Linked DNA regions of Homo sapiens: region 2 is linked to region 1. The links are contacts of gene promoters, found by promoter capture Hi-C in human tissues and cell types (Jung and others, 2019). All regions are on one chromosome and are shown on one strand. The core of a region is centred on a gene start or on the middle of the fragment in contact, and the rest is flanking DNA. Distances in the headings are between cores, read along the strand shown. Region 1 holds the start of OR56B4 (olfactory receptor family 56 subfamily B member 4). Region 2 has its middle 29 kb from the start of OR56A1.

The links. Contacts are between HindIII fragments. The study calls those that stand out against the background at their distance.
Region 2: a fragment that was not itself captured here is called in contact with the fragment with the promoter of OR56B4 in region 1 in 1 of the 25 tissues and cell types used here (liver).

The regions. Positions count from the first base shown.
Region 1 is chr11:6,105,699-6,110,759 of GRCh38, reverse strand. It overlaps OR56B4 (olfactory receptor family 56 subfamily B member 4), which reads right to left and starts at 3,076. Exons shown (of 1, transcript NM_001005181.2): 1 at 1,925-3,076. The coding sequence starts at 2,981. The coding sequence ends at 2,022. It overlaps LOC124902622 (a long non-coding RNA gene), which reads left to right. Exons shown (of 3, transcript XR_007062565.1): 2 at 412-496. The HindIII fragment of the contact is 6,854 bases long and covers 519-5,061 here.
Region 2 is chr11:6,057,055-6,061,941 of GRCh38, reverse strand. It overlaps the pseudogene OR52L2P. Among named protein-coding and RNA genes, the nearest start is that of OR56A1, 29 kb to the right of the region's middle. The HindIII fragment of the contact is 6,047 bases long and covers 1-4,495 here.

The DNA of each region.
Region 1 (5,061 bases), core at 1,827-4,326:
TGAATGAATGAATAAATAAACAAATAAATAAATAAAGGTATGTATGAATGAAAGTTTAAAGGCAGCTTTGAGGATGGCACACTATTGCCATCTACCAGAGACAGCTAAACTGCCTGAGCCTCAGTACTGCCACTTCCCAGTGGGTGAATTTATATAATTACCCAAACTTAGCCCCTATTTCTTTGTAGAAAAGAATTAATAGTAATCCTTTAACAGCTTCCTAATTAAGAGGACTGCTATGAAAATTATGTGAAATTACTCAATCCACTGTGGGAAAGTATTTTGCAAACTGTGAAGAACTCTGCAGGATTAGATGTTATTACTCTGATCCTTCAGGGTAACAAACCATGGGAGGTTGAGTTAAGTTAAAATCCTTTCTGTAATTGTCTCTCTCTTGCCTCCTCTTATTAGATGATCAGTTGCTTCCATTTGAATCACTGTCAAGAAAGAATGAAGCAGCCAATTCTTTTGGAGGAAGTTGATAGTCTCTTTTTGGGTAAGTTTCCAAGCATAACTCTTAAGAAGTCCTGTCCCGCACACAGATGACTTCCCCCTGCAGCTCTGTTATGCTGCCCAGCATGCATTACTCTGGTGAGATGAGCTGATGGTTTCTGATGTTGCTTTAGTCCTTGTGCTATTTCCTAAGAAGTTGTTTTCCAAGGTGGACTCATGTGCAAACTTCCTGAGGTCATTATTCAGACCATGGTCCAGGTATTTTCTTTGATACACATAATTCAACAGATCTATAATGCTCCCTGATTATATAATGAATTAAGCACCTACTGTGTGCAATGTTCTGACTGAGGCTCATTGAAAGTACACATGAATGGTTCTTGTACTCAAAAAGTGTGCAATTTTTTTAGGTGAGCAAACAGCAAAAATTCAGTTAGCTTTAATTAACAGGTTATTTGAAACTATTTTTATAGGGCATTTTCTAGGATCCATTTTCTTCCTTTCCTAGCAAGAAAACTGCCACATAGTTAGATTTATATTTCCATGTGTATATCTTATTTCAAAGCATGTATTCTTTATCTCTTTTGATTGTCACAGCATGTTTGCGATTTGGCTCAGCAAAATGTTATGATTTTTGTCACTTTTAATCAGAAGAATTGAAACATAGGGAGGTTTCATAAGTTGTTCAAGTTCACACAGAAATTTTGGAACAGAGCAAGACTGAGAGTAAGAATAGTGCTATGGTTTTTCAATCAGACTTCCCAGGACTTGAATCCCAGCTCTCCCACTTAGAAACTGTGCTGTCAGGGGGCAAGTTCTATAATTTCCAGTGCCTGAGTTTTCTTAGCTGGAAATTGGGAATAATATTGTACCTGCCCAAAGGGTTATTGTGAGAATTGAGTCAGATAATCTACATACATATTTTATCAAAGTTTCTGGCCTACAAGAAGTATTTAACACTTGTTAACCATTAATTCATTAATTATTGAGATTTTTTTGGGTACGAAAATTAAACTTTACTCCTTTTTAATAAACATTTATTGTTTACTTTTTATTATAAAAATTACATATGAAAAGCACATAAATATGTAAGAGTTAAATATGTGTAAATATTAAAGGCTTTGTTTTCTATTATTAGTCATATTATAATGATTTTTATGAATAACTTTTTGACTGCATTTAGACTATTTCTTTTGGATATTTTTCTAAAATAGAATTACTGGTTAAGAACATTTAAACATTTATAAACATTTTGATAAATTTTACCAAATTGCTTTTTGGTGTGTTTATAGTCCTACCAGTTGTGTAGGAAAGTGTTAATCTCGGGGTAGGCTAGCAGTAATAGTTAGAAACATTTCACTTTTTTGTTCTTACTTATTTTCCAGGTAATAGGAAATTTTCTTGTAATTTTAATATACATATTTTGATTAGTGAGGCTGACAGTTTTCATGATTTTATTGGCCATTTTTTTCCTAGGGAGTGTGGTAAGTGCAGATTATAACCCTGATCTATTGAGAACTAAAACCTCTGTCATTTCCTAACATCTTACTGGATTCCTAAAGCTGGAGTTACTTGGACACGTCCTGACCCAGTCCAAGCAGTCTCTGAAAGCCCAGTCTGAGTTTGTGCATCCTGAGTGCACAGGCCAGGGGGTTGAGTGCAGGGGGGATGACATTGTGCAGCACATTAAGGAACACAGGAATAAGGGGAATCTTTTTCTCTGCAAGGTGTGTGACAGACAGCACAATGATACCTGTGTGGAAGAGGATGAGGATGAGGTGGGAGCTACAAGTGCTCAGAGCCTTGGACATTGCTTCTGCTGAGTTCAGCCTCAGCACAGAGTGAAGGATTACAGCATAGGAAGAAAATACCAGAGCCATATCACTCCCAACCAAGACCCATGCTAGCATCAGTTGGTAAAATTTGTTCACAGTGATGTCATCACAAGCCAGGCTGATAACCCCCAAGTTAGAGCAGAGGCAGTGCTCGATTTCATTCCTGGAACAGTAGTGTCTCTGGGCAGCCAGTATAGGCACTGGGATGGTCAACAGGCCATTCCTGAGCATGATGAACCCTGTGGCTTTGAAGACAAAAGCTTTAGTGACTATGGAGGGGTACTGAAGAGGGCGACAGATGGCTATGTATCTGTCTACTGCCATGCAGAGAAAGATGCCTGACTCTATGCAGAAGAAGCAGTGGATGGCATAGATCTGAGCAAAACACATGGGGAGGCTAATGGCCTTGGCATCAAACCAGAAGATGGCCAGGATCTTGGGCATGATGGTGGTGGCCAGGCCAATGTCCACCACTGCTAATATGCCCAGCAAATGGTACATGGGTTCATGTAGCACGGTCTCATGTTGAATGGTGATTATGATGAGGAGATTGGCACCAAGAGCTAAGAGGTAGAGCAGAGTCAGGGGCAGGGAGAGCCAGTGCTGCCACTCATGAATGCCTGGTAATCCCATCAGGATGAACTGGGAAATCTGGAGGCTGGAGTCATAGGTAACACTGGTGGAGGTATCCATGGAATGGGTGCCTCAGTCTCAGTGTCTGTCTGAAATAGAAGAAATCTCTGTTTAAAAGTTCAGCTAAGGGGCTGAGCATCGTGGTTCATGCCTGTAATCCCAGCACTTTGGGAGGCTGAGACAGGCAGATAATTTGAGGTCAGGAGCTCGAGACTGACCTGGCTAACATGGCAAAATCTCATCTCTGCGGAGAATACAAAAATTAGCTGGGTGTGGTGGTGCCTGTCTGTAATCCCAGCTACTTGGGAGGCTGAGGCATGAGAATCATTGAACCTGGGAGGCGGAGGTTGCCGTGAGCCGAGATTGTGCCACTGCACCCCAGCCTGGACAACAGAGTGAGACCCTGTCTTAAAAAACAAAACAAAACAAAAAGTTAAGTGTCTTGGTAAGAGCTCCTCAATAATGAACCAGCTCCTTTTATTCATGAATGACCCTCAACTTTATTTGACTTCTGGAAATATTCCACAGAGGAATAACAAAAAAAGCAAAAAAATTCTAAACAGAAGAGTTGGAATAACTATTTTTCATCACCACTTGTATGTCTAATAAGCATGTCCACATATATTAACAACAGTCTTATCACTAACAGATAACAAATGTTAGTATTTGATTTATTTCCAATTTTCTATTTTATTTTTAAACAGTCTACATCATTATCTAGAGATGATTTTGTATCTTGTTTTTGTCTTTTAGCAGTATGTGTTAAGATGTAATATAAGCACTCAAAAATTTTATTTCATGGATGAATACATTAACCAAAGACTTCACAATATTATTTAAAAAGTGTGATGTTAATTTTAATTGCTGCTTTAAATTTTTGCATTTGGCTATTCTATAATTTACTGACAGGTATTTTGCTTTTAATATTGTTTTCCTTGAGTAGAGTTTCAAAAGTGATGCAAAAATTATATATACAAAGGATATAATAGTCTTAAAATTTTAAATATAATTTTGATTTTATTTTAAGATATATTATCTATACATGGTAAAAATCAAAATAAAATGAAAAATATAAACAATGAAAAGTAAGACTCTCATGCTTGGGGCTTTGAAATCTTTTTCCTTTTCACTAGAGGCAGCCAGTAATATGTTTCTTGGGAATCCTTCCATTAATAGTTTATGCATGGATAAAAACATATATATATATATATATATATATATATAATTTTCATAAAAGACATAATCAATTGTTAGCACACCTTTCTCCTTTTTTCTTTCCTTTTCTTTTTTAACTTAATATTTTGAAGACTGCTCCATATTTCCATACTGCAGTTAAGTTGCATTATTTTCTACCACCTAGATGCCCTATAGTTTAATGATTTTTTTTTGTATTTTTAGAATTGATATATCATATTTGTAGATATTTTGGAGGTACATGTGATATTTTGATACATGTATACAATGTGTAATGATCGAATCAGTGTAATTAGGATATCCATCACCTCAAGCATTTATCTTTTCTTTGTGTTAGGAACATTGCAATTCTCTTTTAGCGATTTTGAAACATACAGTAAATTATTAACTATAATTTTCCTACTGTGCTATTGAATACTAGAACTTATTTCTTCCACCTAACTGTATTTTTGTCCCCATCAGCCACCCTCTATTCTTCCCCTACCCCCACCCTTTCCGGCCTCTGGTAACCACCATTCTATTCATTACTTCTGTGAGATCCACTTTTTTTCTTTTTCCGGCTCACTGCAAACTCCACCTCCCAGGTTCAAGCGATTCTCCTGCCTCAGCCTCCCGAGTAGCTGGGATTACAGGTGTGTGCCACCACACCCGGCTAATTTTTGTATTTTTAGTAGAGATGGGGTTTCACCATGTTGGCGAGGCTGGTCTCAAACTCCTGACCTCAGGTGATCTGCCTGCCTTGGCCTCCCAAAGTGCTGGGATTACAGGCGTGAGCCACCGTGCCCAGCTGAGATCCACTTTTTAAGCTCCCAAACATGTGTAGGAACATGTAATATTTGTCTTTCTCTACTTGATTTATTTCACTTAACACAATAACCTCCAGTTCCATTCATGTTTCTGCAAATGACAGGATTTTATTCCTTTTTGTGGCTGAATAATAGGCCAC
Region 2 (4,887 bases), core at 223-2,722, 47 kb after region 1:
ACTTTATTGATTATCTATGTGTCTCCGATTTGTGCAGTGAAGCTCTGCCTCTTAGTGCTTGATTTCTGTATCTTCCTCTCTTATTAGGTCATTATCATGGACCCACTATTTCTGTGTCCTCCACTGCTCTTTTTCTGCCTAGGTTCTTGTCTCCTTTCCTCCCGACTATCATAGAGTCCAGATCACTGCTGAGAAAGAGATTAAAGAGAGAGAGAGACAAGTCACATCCCATAGAGGCCTCCCTGCCTGCTAGGAGCAGAAGTGACTACCAGTGACCACAGGAATCCCCTTATTTCTGACACATCTAGGATTTCTTTATCACTTCTTTGCATGCGAGATAGTGATGAATCAGCAGGGATCTTTCTGCCATGAAGCACCCAGAGCATCACTTAAGGTGAGGACTGTCAACACTCAATCAGTAATCCCCTCAGACGGCAACCCAGTGTCTGCTACTTTATTCCTTTACTTAAATTCAGTCTCTGCCTTATCAAATTTTCATAATCTTCAGCCTTTTAAGACACTCATACACTTATTTATTTATTATTTAATCTAATCATATGGATATTTATTCAACCAACATTACTGATTACCGACTGGATTCTAGGTGCTTCTGGAGCTTGCCCTGGGGCTGCTGCAATAAGCAAGGCATAGTCCCTGCTTTTTAAAGTGCAAGGTCATCAATGCAATGACAAAGTGGTAAAGACATCACAAAGGGAAAGAAAAGGAGACACATTATGCTGTCTTACAGAATTCAAGCACAACTTCACAGAAGATAGGTTGCTTAGATTGAATGTAGATGAATAAGTAGTAGTTCAACAGCATCAGCTCTTCGCTAATTGTCCCCTGCTTTCTGGTTGGAGAACTAAATAGAGCTTCACTTTTAGGTTCTTGGGAATAAAGTCCCTTCTGCTTTTCTTCTAAGAATCACAGAGGGATCTCCTATTTACTTTAATAATTAGTGCTTAATAAGCAGATGTAGGCTTTTGCTCTAGTCTCACAAGCCATGCAGCATAAAAAAGAAGCAGATTATATTCAGGTTCGTGTCTCTGCCCCTCTGCTTCACCTTCTGTAGTACGGTTTCAGTCTCACTGCTTTATGCACACTGTTTCTATTAAAGCCACGGGTGCCTTCCACAAACACATACCTGTTCTTCAACTTCTCAGCTATAAAATGAGAAATGAGCTGATGGTTGTAACAGAAGGGGAGTAGCTAAGAAAGAGAATTAACTTCCTCAGTATGTGGAATATTAAGCACTGAAAGGTGATTTTTTTTTTTTTTTTTGCAAGAGTATAAGATTCCCCTGGAAGTCTCAATAAAAATGTCATCATTATTTTAAGTTGACTCTTGAAGAAAGACAAAGGCTGGGAGACATATGCCCACCTAGAATTTCAGAACTTATAGTTGTTATATTGAGAGTTTGGGGGCAATATGATAGTTCCCAAACATTATTGATTTGTAAAAAAGACACACTGAGTGATCTATAGATGCATAATCCACAAGAACTGAGTCATTCTTGACTTTTAAAAATCTTCACATGTACATGTACACGAACCACCACCCCAACAAAGAAAAATATAGTTGTTTCAGACTACATCTGTCTTTTAAGATAAACATACAGACACAAATGTAACCAGTTGCAAGTTTCTTATTTTAATACTTGAGGGGTGAATCCCATGGAGAAGGTTAAACAGACAGCTGTTTATTCAATAGTTCATGTTAACGTGGGGTGTCAGAGACACTGAATTGCTATAACATCATGATGACAGGTAAACATATCAAAAGTTTGAATCAGAGAAGCAGAGTCATGAAGACAAAGAAGAAAGGAAAGGTAATTATAGTTATCTTTTTAAACATTAATAATATTGCTATTAATATTTGCCATTACTTTCAACGGCAAAAATCACAATTACTTTTGTACCAACTTAATAAAAGATGACTAAGAGCTCATAGCCATCTTTTATTAGTAACATTAAAAAAGAACTATAATTTATAGACTATACTTTATAAGGTAACCTATATATCAAGACTTTACATACATTAGTTAAAATTTTTAGTATTTAAGATTAATATTATTTATTCTAATATGAAATAAGGAAATTAAGACTTAGAGAGTTTTAGAAGCCTAGCAAGATTTTATTCCTAGAATATGAAATGGACAGAATTTTAACAAACTTTGCCCGCAAAGCTTGTATTTATCACACTGCATTGTGAAGCATCCATGCTAGCTTATAATCATGACATGTAATGAGATACAGTTCTTTAAAACAAGCCATTAAGATGCTGACAGGATTTCTATGATGGAGATAAGCAAGAAAGTTATGGATGAACAAAGAAGGATCATAACATACAGTGCTCGTGACATAATCACTCTTGACCTAACACAGCCAATGAGTCCTTTTGAGCAGCAGAAGAGAGTAGACTCTAAATTTTCAAGAGTGAGGAAGACCAATTCAGATAAAGGAAGTGGAAGAAAGACTACACAAAAGGCATATGTAAAATAGGAGAGTTTAGTCATATAACTCCAAGAATGTTGGAATGGTTTAGTAAAACATACATGTAGAAATATGTTAACTGTAAGACCAAAGTAATACACAATAGATAACCCTTGAAAACCTTTAATGCAGTCTTAAGAGTATGATTTTATTCCATGCAATAGATTCACTGAAGGATTTTAGCCATAGGCACGACATAACGACATCTGCATTTTAGGAAAAACCTGACTTTAAGGTTGAGAGTGAATTGGGAAGATGTTTACAGCAAAGGCAGAGAGATGTAATGAAACAGTACAGGTGAGAGAAGTTGGATGTTTGACATCGGGGGTTGAAAACAGGAGTGGATATAACAGCTATGTGTTAAAAATGCAGTTAACAGGAATTGGCGAATGGGGAAAAGGGATGAGAGATAAGAATAAGTAAAGATAGTTTCCGAGTTTCTAGATTGGGTTTGGTAGATGGATAGTAATGTAATTCATAAAAATATTGCCAAAGGTAGGTAGGACAGATTTAAGAAGGATAGATGAATTAATTTAGTTTTGAATATGTTGAGGCTATAGTATAGCTATTCAGGAAGCAAATGGAAAGAATGATTTGTGTTTCAGAAAGATATTTGACTTAGAAACACAGATTTGAAAGAAATAAAAGTAGATAGATAAAACTATGAAAGTGGATGAGGTCAATTCAGAGATAATGTACTGAATAGGGAAAAGAGGAGAGGATGGATCCCTGGAATCAACAACATAATGAGATGGAGAAAATGGTGGGACTGAGGCTATAGGAGAAACAACTCTAGAGTGCCACTTCACGGAAACTGAGGGAGGCTAATTTCAAAAACAACAGTTTAATTTACTGTGTTCAGTAACGCCAAGAGGCTAATAAAGAGAACCCTTTGAAGTTGGCAGCTTCAAAACATAAGCAACTGAATGGTTAAAGCTTATGCATCTCTCCCAAAACAGTGTATGTTTACTCTTATCTCTAAAAAAACTAGACCTATTCTAATTCAGACATGTGGATGTCTCACCTGTAAAAAAATTTATCTCCACCAAAGATTTTCTTTCTTGTATCTAACTTTATTCCCTTTGGTTGCAGTTTTAGTCACTTTATTCTTCTCATGAAGATGGTAGACAATGTGATCTGGACTATGTGATAATGTACCAGAAATGCAGAAATCATGAATTTGGATTCTTTTTTCTCTTTCCTCCTCAAGTCATTGATAATGGCGCTTAGCAATTCCAGCTGGAGGCTACCCCAGCCTTCTTTTTTCCTGGTAGGAATTCCGGGTTTAGAGGAAAGCCAGCACTGGATCGCACTGCCCCTGGGCATCCTTTACCTCCTTGCTCTAGTGGGCAATGTTACCATTCTCTTCATCATCTGGATGGACCCATCCTTGCACCAACCTATGTACCTCTTCCTGTCCATGCTAGCTGCCATCGACCTGGTTGTGGCCTCCTCCACTGCACCCAAAGCCCTTGCAGTGCTCCTGGTTCGTGCCCAAGAGATTGGTTACACTGTCTGCCTGATCCAGATGTTCTTCACCCATGCATTCTCCTCCATGGAGTCAGGGGTACTTGTGGCCATGGCTCTGGATCGCTATGTAGCCATTTGTCACCCCTTGCACCATTCCACGATCCTGCATCCAGGGGTCATAGGGCACATCGGAATGGTGGTGCTGGTGCGGGGATTACTACTCCTCATCCCCTTCCTCATTCTGTTGCGAAAACTTATCTTCTGCCAAGCCACCATCATAGGCCATGCCTATTGTGAACATATGGCTGTTGTGAAACTTGCCTGCTCAGAAACCACAGTCAATCGAGCTTATGGGCTGACTGTGGCCTTGCTTGTGGTTGGGCTGGATGTCCTGGCCATTGGTGTTTCCTATGCCCACATTCTCCAGGCAGTGCTGAAGGTACCAGGAAATGAGGCCCGACTTAAGGCGTTTAGCACATGTGGCTCTCATGTTTGTGTCATCCTGGTCTTCTATATCCCGGGAATGTTCTCCTTCCTCACTCACCGCTTTGGTCATCATGTACCCCATCACGTCCATGTTCTTCTGGCCATACTGTATCGCCTTGTGCCACCTGCACTCAATCCTCTTGTCTATGGGGTGAAGACCCAGAAGATCCACCAGTGAGTGCTCAGGGTGTTTACACTAAAGGATTGACCTGAATATATTCTCACTGTTTCCTTCAGAGGCACCTGCCAGGACATAGCCAGGAACTCATGGCTGGTGCAGATTATATGGATGGGGTAATTTTCACAGCGAGCAGTCCTTCTAGTGTCACATATCACAGCAAAGAATATCCAGAGGCACCTGGCTTCACAGCTTATTGGGATGTATCTGGATACCTGAATTTGTGAATAGTTTTTCCATTCTTTCTTTTGCTCCTGATTC